Linked DNA regions of Homo sapiens: region 1 is linked to region 2. The links are contacts of gene promoters, found by promoter capture Hi-C in blood cells and fetal thymus (Javierre and others, 2016). All regions are on one chromosome and are shown on one strand. The core of a region is centred on a gene start or on the middle of the fragment in contact, and the rest is flanking DNA. Distances in the headings are between cores, read along the strand shown. Region 1 has its middle 32 kb from the start of PNMA8B. Region 2 holds the start of DACT3-AS1 (DACT3 antisense RNA 1).

Region 1 (4,436 bases), core at 696-3,195, 130 kb before region 2:
TCTCTGGTCAGGTCTGGCCCAGAGGCCTCTTCCTGACCTCCTTCTCTTCCTTCACCCGCCCCCCTTTACCCTATTCAGTTTTATGGCACTTAGCACGATTCATTTTGTGACTTGTTCATCATCTTATCTGCCTCCTAGAATATCAGCTCCATGCGGACAGGAAGGGTTTTGTTCATAGCTGTACCCCCAGTGCCTAGGACAGTGCCTGGCACATAGGAGATGCTCAATAATCATCTGTGGGATGAATGGCTGGACCTTCTCAGCACCTAGAGGTGAACCAGACACAGCCTGTGGGGGCGGGGCTACTGCCGGCAGAGAGGGAGGGAGGAGAGGATGACAGAGTGGCCAAGAAGCCAGCATGGAGAAGGGCCCGGGCAGGGGTGATGCTGGTGGGTAGGGAAGGTGTATTAGTCCATTTTCACATTGCTGATAAAGACATACCCGAGACTGGGTAATTCATAAAGAATAAGAGGTTTAATGGACTCACAGTTCCATGTGGCTGAGGAGGTCTCACAATCATGGTGGAAGATGAAAGGCACGTCTCATGTGCCGACAGGCAGGAGAGAATGAGAACCAAGTGAAAGGGGAAACCCCTTATAAAACCATCAGATCTCGTGAGACTTACTCACTACCACGAGAACAGTATGGGGGAAACTGCCTCCACGATTCAATTATCTCCCACCAGGTCTCTCCCACAACATGTAGGAATTATGGGAGTTACAATTCAAGATGAGATTTGGGTGGGGATGAGATTTGGGTGGGGACACAGCCAAGCCATATCAGCGGGGTGTTGCAGCTCCTGACCTCGCCCATTGGGAATCATGAGACGGAGCTTTGGGCTGCGGATGGAGCGCCCTGGAACACAGGCAGAGGAGCGACAGACAGCAGCCTGGGGGCAGAACAAGGGGCTACCCTTGAGCCCACCCCCACCCCCAGGGAATGGAGAAGGCCCGTGTGGAATGTTCTGGGCTGGAGCGTGGAGCATCCAGGCCTGACTCACTCATGCTCTCGATGTCCAGCGAGTCCACCACGGAGCGCTTGTGCTCGTCGCCTGCGATGGCCCGCTCAAAGGCCTTCTGCTTCACGATCTTGTTGCACTCCTGGTATTTCATTTTGGCATCCTTGTCGTGGGGCTTCACCTTGACCACCTGGGTGGGAGGGAAGGGGCGTGCACACTGAGGCCGAGGTGGGGGCACAGCGGCTGTCCCCAGGCTGCCCAGCCCTGGATTCCATGAACGCGGAAGTCAGGCTGCCCGGGCACCAGTGCTGATGGTGCAACCCTGGACATGTTTAACCTCCAAGTCTTGGTTTCTGCACCCCAAAACTGTCCATAGCTAAGCTGCTCACACCGGCACACTTCATCAACCTTAGCTATAACTACATTAAAATCAAACACCTTGCCCGTCTGAGGACCATGGGCTCAGCTCCTGGTCCCCCGTGGGAACCAGTGCAGGCAGCGACAACTCCAGGCTTCCCAGCCTTGGACTCCAGGACTTACGCCAGCTGCCCCTCAAATCCTCAGGCCTTTGGCTTCGGACTGAGAATTACACCGTTGGCTTCCCCAGTTCTGAGGCCTTCGGACTTGTTCTGAGCCACACTCCCTGCATCCCAGGGTCTCCAGCCTGCACACAGCCTCAGGACTTCTCCGCCTCCATAATTGAATGAGCCAGTTGCCCAATAAACCCCTTCTCCTATCTCTGTCTACACATATCCTGTTGATTCTGTCTCTTTGGAGAACTCTGATTAATATGCTTCCTCTATGAAACAAACAGGGCTGTTCCTAGCCATCTCCCAGCCCCTAGGGAGATGAAACGCCATGGCATACCTGGCCACCGCAGGGCTCAATTAAGATGAGCTGTAATTATTATTATTATTATTACTTTGAGATGGAGTCTCACTCTGTCACTCAGGCTGGAGTGTAGTGGCGCAATCTTAGCTCACTGCAACCTCCATATTCTGGGTTCAAGCAATCCTCCTTCCTCAGCCTCCTGAGTGGCTGGGATTACAGGCGCCTGACACCACCCCCAGCTAATTTTTGTATTTTTAGTAGAGATGGAGGTTTCACCATGTTGGCCAGGCTGATCTGGAACTCCTGACCTCCTGCCCACCTCAGCCTCCCAAAGTGCTGGGATTATAGGCATGCGCCACCGCACCTGGCCAAGGTGAGTTGTCATTATTCTTCTTATTGTTATTCCCACAGCCCTGGAGCCTGGGGCTCTGTGCCTTCTACTGCCTGCCAGACAGCGAGGGGCCTGGGCCAGCAGGGCCGTTCTCCTCCGTGCCAGCTCAGTGCCAGGCCCCTCTGGCTGCCTGCCCAGCCCCAGGACTCCTGAGAGCCTGGATCCGGGGTCCTGGGGGGTAAGGGGCCCCTCCCAAAGGCTGCTGTTGCCCGGAACTCTGACGCAGCCTCAGCAGCAACCCCCAAGCAGGCTGCTCCCATCCCAGGGAAGTCCACCTTCCACCCCATCACCCAGCTGAGACTGAGCCTCATCCTGGACTCCTCCCGACCCCTCAGCCCCCACAGCCCGGCAGTCACTTCACTTCTTCTGCCAAGTCGGCCTCCTGAACATCTCTCAGATCCAGCCATTCCCTTCTCACCCTCCAGCCCCACCCAGCCCTGACCTGGCCTCTCCTGCCCACGTTCCTGGCTCAGCCTCCACCTGGCCTCACAGCCTCTTGTCCTGCCCTTCCAGAGGGGTGTTCCTAAGGCACAAACCTGACCCTGTCCTTTCCCTACTCGGAACCTCCCAGGGCTCCCAGAGCCTCCCGCAGAAAGCCCTGGCTCTCCCCACGGCCCTGCGTGATCTGCTCCCTGCAGCTTCATCATAACCCCCACGCACACACACTGCAGCCCCACTCACCGCCTCCATGCTAGGCTCCGCTAACCTCTGGAACTTTGCCACCAGGTTCTTTCTGCCTGAAGGCCAAAACCATCAACCCCCTAGGGAGACCCCCAGGCATGCGTCCAGAGACCCAGCATCCCCCATCCCTCGTCCACTATGTCACCCCACTGTGAGAGCTGAAAGGTTGTTTCTGCCCATTCAGGGACAGAGCCTACCCCAGGAGGCCCACTAGATTCTCAGGCCCACCAGGGCCCATGAGTGGCAGGACCCACACTGGGGGACTGGGAGCTGTGACCCTCTAGGCTAACGGGGAACTATGGGAGCTCTGCCTGGGGACACAGGGCCCCAGGCCTGGGCCAGTTCAAGAGATGAGTGGCTGGCAGCTCCCAGCAGATCACCAGGCTGGGGACGAACCCTGAGGGTGAGAGAGACTCCTCTCCCAAACTAGGAGTGGGCTAGGGTCCTGGACTTTGCCCCAACATCCCCCTCCCACGCCCTGCACGCCTTCAGCCCACACCATTCCACGCTTTCAGCCCACGCCTTCTGCGGCCTCCCCGTCGGGTCCAGCCTCAGCCTCACCCGTCCCATTCATCCACATGACATCGCAAACTTGACCCTCCCCCTCCCTTATTCCAAAATTTTCTCTAGTTCCCCAGTGCCCCGGGAACAAGTCGGGTTCCTATGAAGCCCTGTATCCCGCAGTCCCACCTTCTCCCCAGTGTTAAGCTCTACTCAGGTGGGGTTCCTCTGCCTCCCCCTACCGGGCTGTAAACCCCCCGGGAAGGTAGGACCTGGGCTGTTTCAGTCCCCATCTAGGCAGGATCAGACCCTGGTGAATGCATGTGGAGGGAAGAAAGGGAAAGAAAGGGAGGAAGGGACAGAATAAGAAGGGGAGGGAGGGTGGTGCCCTTTAAAATCAAAACCTCTGGTTTCATCTTTCTTCCCTGAACTGGCTCCCCACGCCCACCAGAGGGCGCTCTGACCCAGCAAATTCCTCATACAGCAACAGCCCGTTCTACACACAAAAGGGAATTATGAAAATAAGGATTGACACCAATAATCGATACTTAAAGCCCTACTGTGACCAGTACCTATGCTAAATTATCCACGTGCCTAAATCAACACAGCAATTCTGAGAATATCTTATAAATGAGGAAAGTGAGGCTCAGAGAGGTCATTTAACTTTCCCAGTGTCACACAGCACATAAGCTGCAGAGAAGCTTCCAGCTCTGGCCTTGGTAACCCCACAACCTTCCGTTCCTTGGTCATAGCCTGACGTGACCAAACCACAATGCCCTCTGTGCCTGGCCCTGCCACCTCCTGCCCAACCCCCATCCCGAGGCTCAGCCACACCCTTCCACCCCCAGCTCCTTAGACATCCTGTTCCCCATTTAGTCACTGGAATCTTAGCCCATTGGCTGCCTCGAAAGCACTTCTTCCCTTTCCCTACCCCCACCTCCCACAAATGGTCACCTCCTCCCTTCAGCTCAATGTCACCTCCTCTGAGTAAGCCTGTCCTGATCCAGGGTTAGCTCCATCTCTTCCGACTCACCTCCCCTAAGAATCCAGGCTTTCCCTGCGCTCCAGGAGGCA
Region 2 (4,790 bases), core at 811-3,310:
AGGATTGCTTGAGGCCAAGTTAGAGGCTGCAGTGAGCTATGATCGTGCCACTGCACTTCAGCCTGAGAGACTTTGTCTCCAAAAATAAATGAATAAATAAATATATCATTTAAAAATACATAAATAAACGTGAAAGGATAGACTTTTTGGTAAGTTCTGCCAAGTCTAATTCCGGTTCTTCCATTACAAGGAAGAGCAGAAATTAGGGAGACAGACAGGAGATGCCTCCTCCTCTCCAGCACCTAGACGCCCCCCAAAAATATTCCAAGTCTACACCCCTCTATTTGCAAGTCTGGCCTCATTCCTTCCAGTTGCAAAAGGATGAATCTTTAAAAGATTAGAAAGTCCTTGGCCTGAGTCTGGCTCTCTGCCTCCTCACGGTGCCCCTCATCCTTCCTCTGCAGGCTTAATAAGAGTGTGGTTAGGACCCCTGGAGACCCCTTTGCCCAAACTTCCCTTACCTTGTTTCTCCCCTCACGTGCCCCTCGTTGGTATCCAGTGCCCATTTATCTCTATTAGGAAGTCATTCTGCAAGTCTAACTTAAGTTATTCTTGATGAAAGGAACCTTTTTCCTTCTTGAGAGCAAGCAGGACCCAGGGAGCCCCTGCCCTCACCCAGGATTCCTGCCTCTCTTCTCTGCCACACCCCTGATCTTTACCTGGTATCCCCATCATTCCTATTAGAAAGTAATCAAGTCTGGCTTCAGTCTTTCTTGCCTTGAAGGAAGTGTATTCCTGGCAGGGGCTGGGGGTGGGGGGATAAGTCATAAGACAAGGGTTGGGGGATCAGAAGAAGCCCTAATCCACTCTTCAGAGGGACCCAGGAACCCCCAGCACTAGAGAAGTTTATATTTAGCGCTTCTCTGCTCCTCCTCCTCCCCCCGCCTGCCACCGCCTCCTCCCTGATGCTGGGACAAGCTTTGCCTAGAGACTGGGGGGTGGGGGGACAGGCCTCTCCACTATCAGCTCGTGCCGGGAGGACAGAGGGCTGAGGGGGAGGAGGGGACAGAGGGACCGAGGAGAGGGAGACTGAAGGGCAGAGATGGGGAAGGTGAAGGGTGAAAAGGGGAGAGACCGAGGGCAGAGGGGGAGAGGACACAGCTACCCACAGCTACCCCAACCTCATGCCTCGCATTCTCCTTGTCAGGATGGAAGGCGCCTTCCAAGCCGAGCCAGCTTGGGGTGGGGGGAGCTAGCGAAGGCCCCCACAATCCGTCTCTAACTTTGGGAGGGGGTGGGGCCTCCCACAGCTGTTTCTGTTTCCAGAAAAGAATGTGCAGGGGGGTCCCACTCCTGAGAGGGGGAGGGGCCGGGCGTGCAGCCCCGGGAGCCTGGCTTCAGTCTTCCTCCCCACTCCCCATCTGGGGAGGGGGCGGTCGAGGTCAGCGGCGGGGAGAGCCCCCTCCACTGCCACCTCGGCTCAGGTTTCCCGAAACGGGAAGCTCTGGCCACACACAGGCTTGGGGATGGGGATCTGCCGTGGAGCCAGGGTGTGCGGGCTGGGGGGAGGGGAAGACAGACTGAGCCTGGGACGTCGGGCAAGAAGAAGAGAGCGAGGTGCAGACAGGCAGGAAGGGAAGGCCAAGGAGACAGATGCAGAGGGACACAGAGATCACAGAGACAGAGAGACAGGATGAAGAAAGAGAAGCAGACACAGAAAGTCACAGGGATGTGGCAGGACGGAGAGAGTGACAGAACCCAGGACGAGATCGGGAGACTCAAGGAATGACATAGAAAGGGGAGAGGCATGGGGCGTCCTCAAGTCATTCCGGAGACCTCTGCCCATCTTCCACCATGAGAACACCCAGAGTCCAGAAGTCTCCCCCAGGCGCTGCCTCGACCTGCCTCCCCTTGGGTCAAGGAGAGCTGGGGCCAGGTAGGAAGCAGGGGAAGTGTCACCAAAGGGTCAAGATCCCAGTGGGGGGTCCTCAGGGACTGTGAGCTTCCTCTCAGCAGTGGTCCCTCCCTCTGGAGGCCCTGAGATTCCCCTCCTCCCACCCCGCCCCCTCCAGAGATCTCCAAGCACACCAGGACTTAGGGAAGATGGAGCCCTGGTGGCGGGGCCCAGAGAAGGGCATGTTTGGAGCCTGGCTGTGTCACCTTGGGTGAGTCGCTTGCTCTCTCTGAGCCTCAATTTGTTTCTCTGTTAAATGGGGACTATCACCCCGTTTCCCAAGCCGCAAGAAGACAACGCCTGCAAAGTACCCGGTCTCGGGTTTGACACATACTTGGCGCCCACAAGGATTTTCTTTGGGGAAGGGGTGTAAGAGACAGGGCCTGTGTTTCTCACGAGGCCCCAGTGGGGGCGATGCAGTTCCCCCTCCCCCGATTTGGGGGCGGGGAGGCCAGGTCCGGCCCGCCGCCGGAACTCCGGGGTCGCCAGCCCCACCCCCTGTCCTTTCTCACTCCCTGCCTACCCGGGTCCCCAACCCCCGCCCGGTGTCTGAGCATCCAACCGAGACAGACAGACACAGACGGGGGTGGAGGGACGGACGGACAGGCAGCCCCTTACCAGCTGCTCCTCCAGGGCCGCTGCGGCCCGGCGCGCCGCCGCCGCATCTTCATCCTCATCGGCGTCCTCCTCGTCCTCGGCCTCGGCGCCCCCCATTCCGGGCTGGGCCAGCCGCAGCGCCTGCTGCACGCGGTACTCCTGCCTCTCCCGGAGCCAATGTAACTCGCAGAGCCCGGCCAGGCTACCCTCCAGCCAGCCCCGCAGCCGGCCCCGCTCAGGGCTCACCGGGAACGAGAAGGCCCGGATCATGGCTGCGGCCCCCCGCCCCAGCCCGGCCGGGCCCCGCGGCCACCCCTCTCCCGGTCCCACCTCCCCGCCCCAGCAGCCTGCCCGCCCGCCCGCTGGCCGGGCTGTCACCGTCTCATCTGCATAGGCGCCCGCCCATTGGGCCGCCCACCCGCGCCTTATCTGCATGGCCACGCCCCCGGCGACCGAGCAACAGCCGCCTATTGGCGAATAAGCTTCCTGACGAAGACTCTCGGGCGTGCAACCGCACCGCCCAACACGACGCATGCTCGCAACTGCCTACTCACTCCGCTCGCCACGCCCCCTCCGTGCAACTGCCTCGGGGCCCTGGCCACGCCCCCCCACGCGTCACAATGAAACAAGCCCGCCCTTGCTTCAATGCCATTGGTCTGTGCCTGGCCGGTCCTGCAGCAGGTTCCACCCTCTTGCGGGCGAGCGCTGGCTACCATTGGACTGTCCGGCGCGAGGGGAAGGGTGATCTATAAATAGGGAATGGGTACACGTGACAGTTTGGCAGCTGCTCCTACCCCTCCACCCCGCCCAACCTTCAGCTTCTGAGGCTGCGCAGGGGGAGAAAAGGGTTAGGGGGTCGAGCCCTGACTTCGCCTCCTCTTCCAAGAAGCCTTCCCAGACACTCAGCTGTAAAACCAGACGGACGTCCTCCGATGAAATTGTTTCTACTTAGGGCCGGCTTCACCGGCTTGGAATCCACTTAGAAGGGTCTTCGCGCTTGGTTGAATGTTCTGCAATTTCTGTCTTGAAATTTTTAGTTTTTGAGCAAGGGGCCCCTTATTTTCACTTTGCACTAGGCCAAATATGTAGCCGGTCTTGCTGCTAAGAGTCTAAGATCGATTGCATTCCAAATTCTGGAATTATAAGACCCTGGGTGGAAGATTCTATGCTTTGACCAGAAGAGAGTCTAAGCAGCTTTTGTCTCCCAGGTGCTAGGAGGATGTGTGCTCATCATTCTTCCATTCCAGGGGCCTTTGTTCTACGTTCTAAGGGGCTTTGTTCTCAGCCTTCTATGATGCTCTATTCTCAACGTTCTCTGGTCCTAGGAGTCTGAGCCTGACATTCGTTTCCAAGGCTTCCTGCTGTCTCTCCAGGCTCCGCAAGCAGGGCTGGGGCACCCTCAGGCGGCCAATCTGTATCACTACGCCGAGCCTGCCTCTACCAACTTCCAAGACCTAGCTCTAATATTCATACTCATCTCTCAGACAGACCTTGGCTCCCTAAAAGCCAAGGCCCAGAAGATCATACAAGAAATTCCCTCTTTTATGATTCCCCGTGCACGAAGTGACCTTCTGGTGGTGAGATGGAGAGAAATTGATAGTGGCGATAGACAGCAAAGTCTCCAGGAGCCAGACTTCCTCGGGGTGAGTCACAGATCTGTCACTTTCCAGCTGTGTGACCTTGGAAAACTTACTTAACCTCTCTGTGCCACCGTTTCTTCATCTGATCACGGGATCATAATACTGGCTGCCTCATACAGTTGTTCTGAGGATTCAATGAAATGTATTAGGTACTTGGAGCAGTGTCTTCCATGGATTAAGAGCCACAGAAGGGTTTGACAAATAAGTTTAAAAACTAATCTAGTAAGTTTCCGGGGGGAAATGTCTTGAAATTTATTAGAGACAACCTTTATTCAGTCTTCCTCTTGTTCAAAATAGACTTAGAAAATTAGTCGGGTGTGGTGGTGCACACCTGTAGCCCCAGCTACTTGGGAGGCTGAGGCGGGAGGATCACTTGATTTCCTTTTTGACTTCTTGATGCTTTTATTAATGATGATGCCAAAAGATTTCTGGAGAATCAGCCAGGCGCAGTGGCTCACGTCTGTAATCCCAGTACTTTGGGAGGCTGAGGCGGGCAGATCACCTGAGTTCAGGAGTTCAGATCAGCCTGGCCAACATGGCGAAACCCCATCTGTACTAAAAATACAAAAATTAGCTGGGCATGATGGCACACACCGAGACTGTGGCACTGCACTCCAGCCTGGGTAACAGAGGGAGACTCCGTCTCAAAAAAAGAAAGA

The links. Contacts are between HindIII fragments. The CHiCAGO score rates a contact against its expected background, and 5 or more counts as called.
Region 1: a fragment that was not itself captured here is called in contact with the fragment with the promoter of DACT3-AS1 in region 2 in 1 of 17 cell types (naive B cells); the score reaches 5.2 in naive B cells.

The regions. Positions count from the first base shown.
Region 1 is chr19:46,525,925-46,530,360 of GRCh38, forward strand. It overlaps the pseudogene PPP5D1P. Among named protein-coding and RNA genes, the nearest start is that of PNMA8B, 32 kb to the left of the region's middle. The HindIII fragment of the contact is 4,232 bases long and covers 1-4,061 here.
Region 2 is chr19:46,658,304-46,663,093 of GRCh38, forward strand. DACT3-AS1 (DACT3 antisense RNA 1) reads left to right here and starts at 2,061. Exons shown (of 3, transcript NR_040042.1): 1 at 2,061-2,105. It overlaps DACT3 (dishevelled binding antagonist of beta catenin 3), which reads right to left and starts at 2,879. Exons shown (of 4, transcript NM_145056.3): 1 at 2,513-2,879. The coding sequence starts at 2,761. RefSeq lists silencers at 2,677-2,926, 3,137-3,256. The HindIII fragment of the contact is 2,055 bases long and covers 917-2,971 here.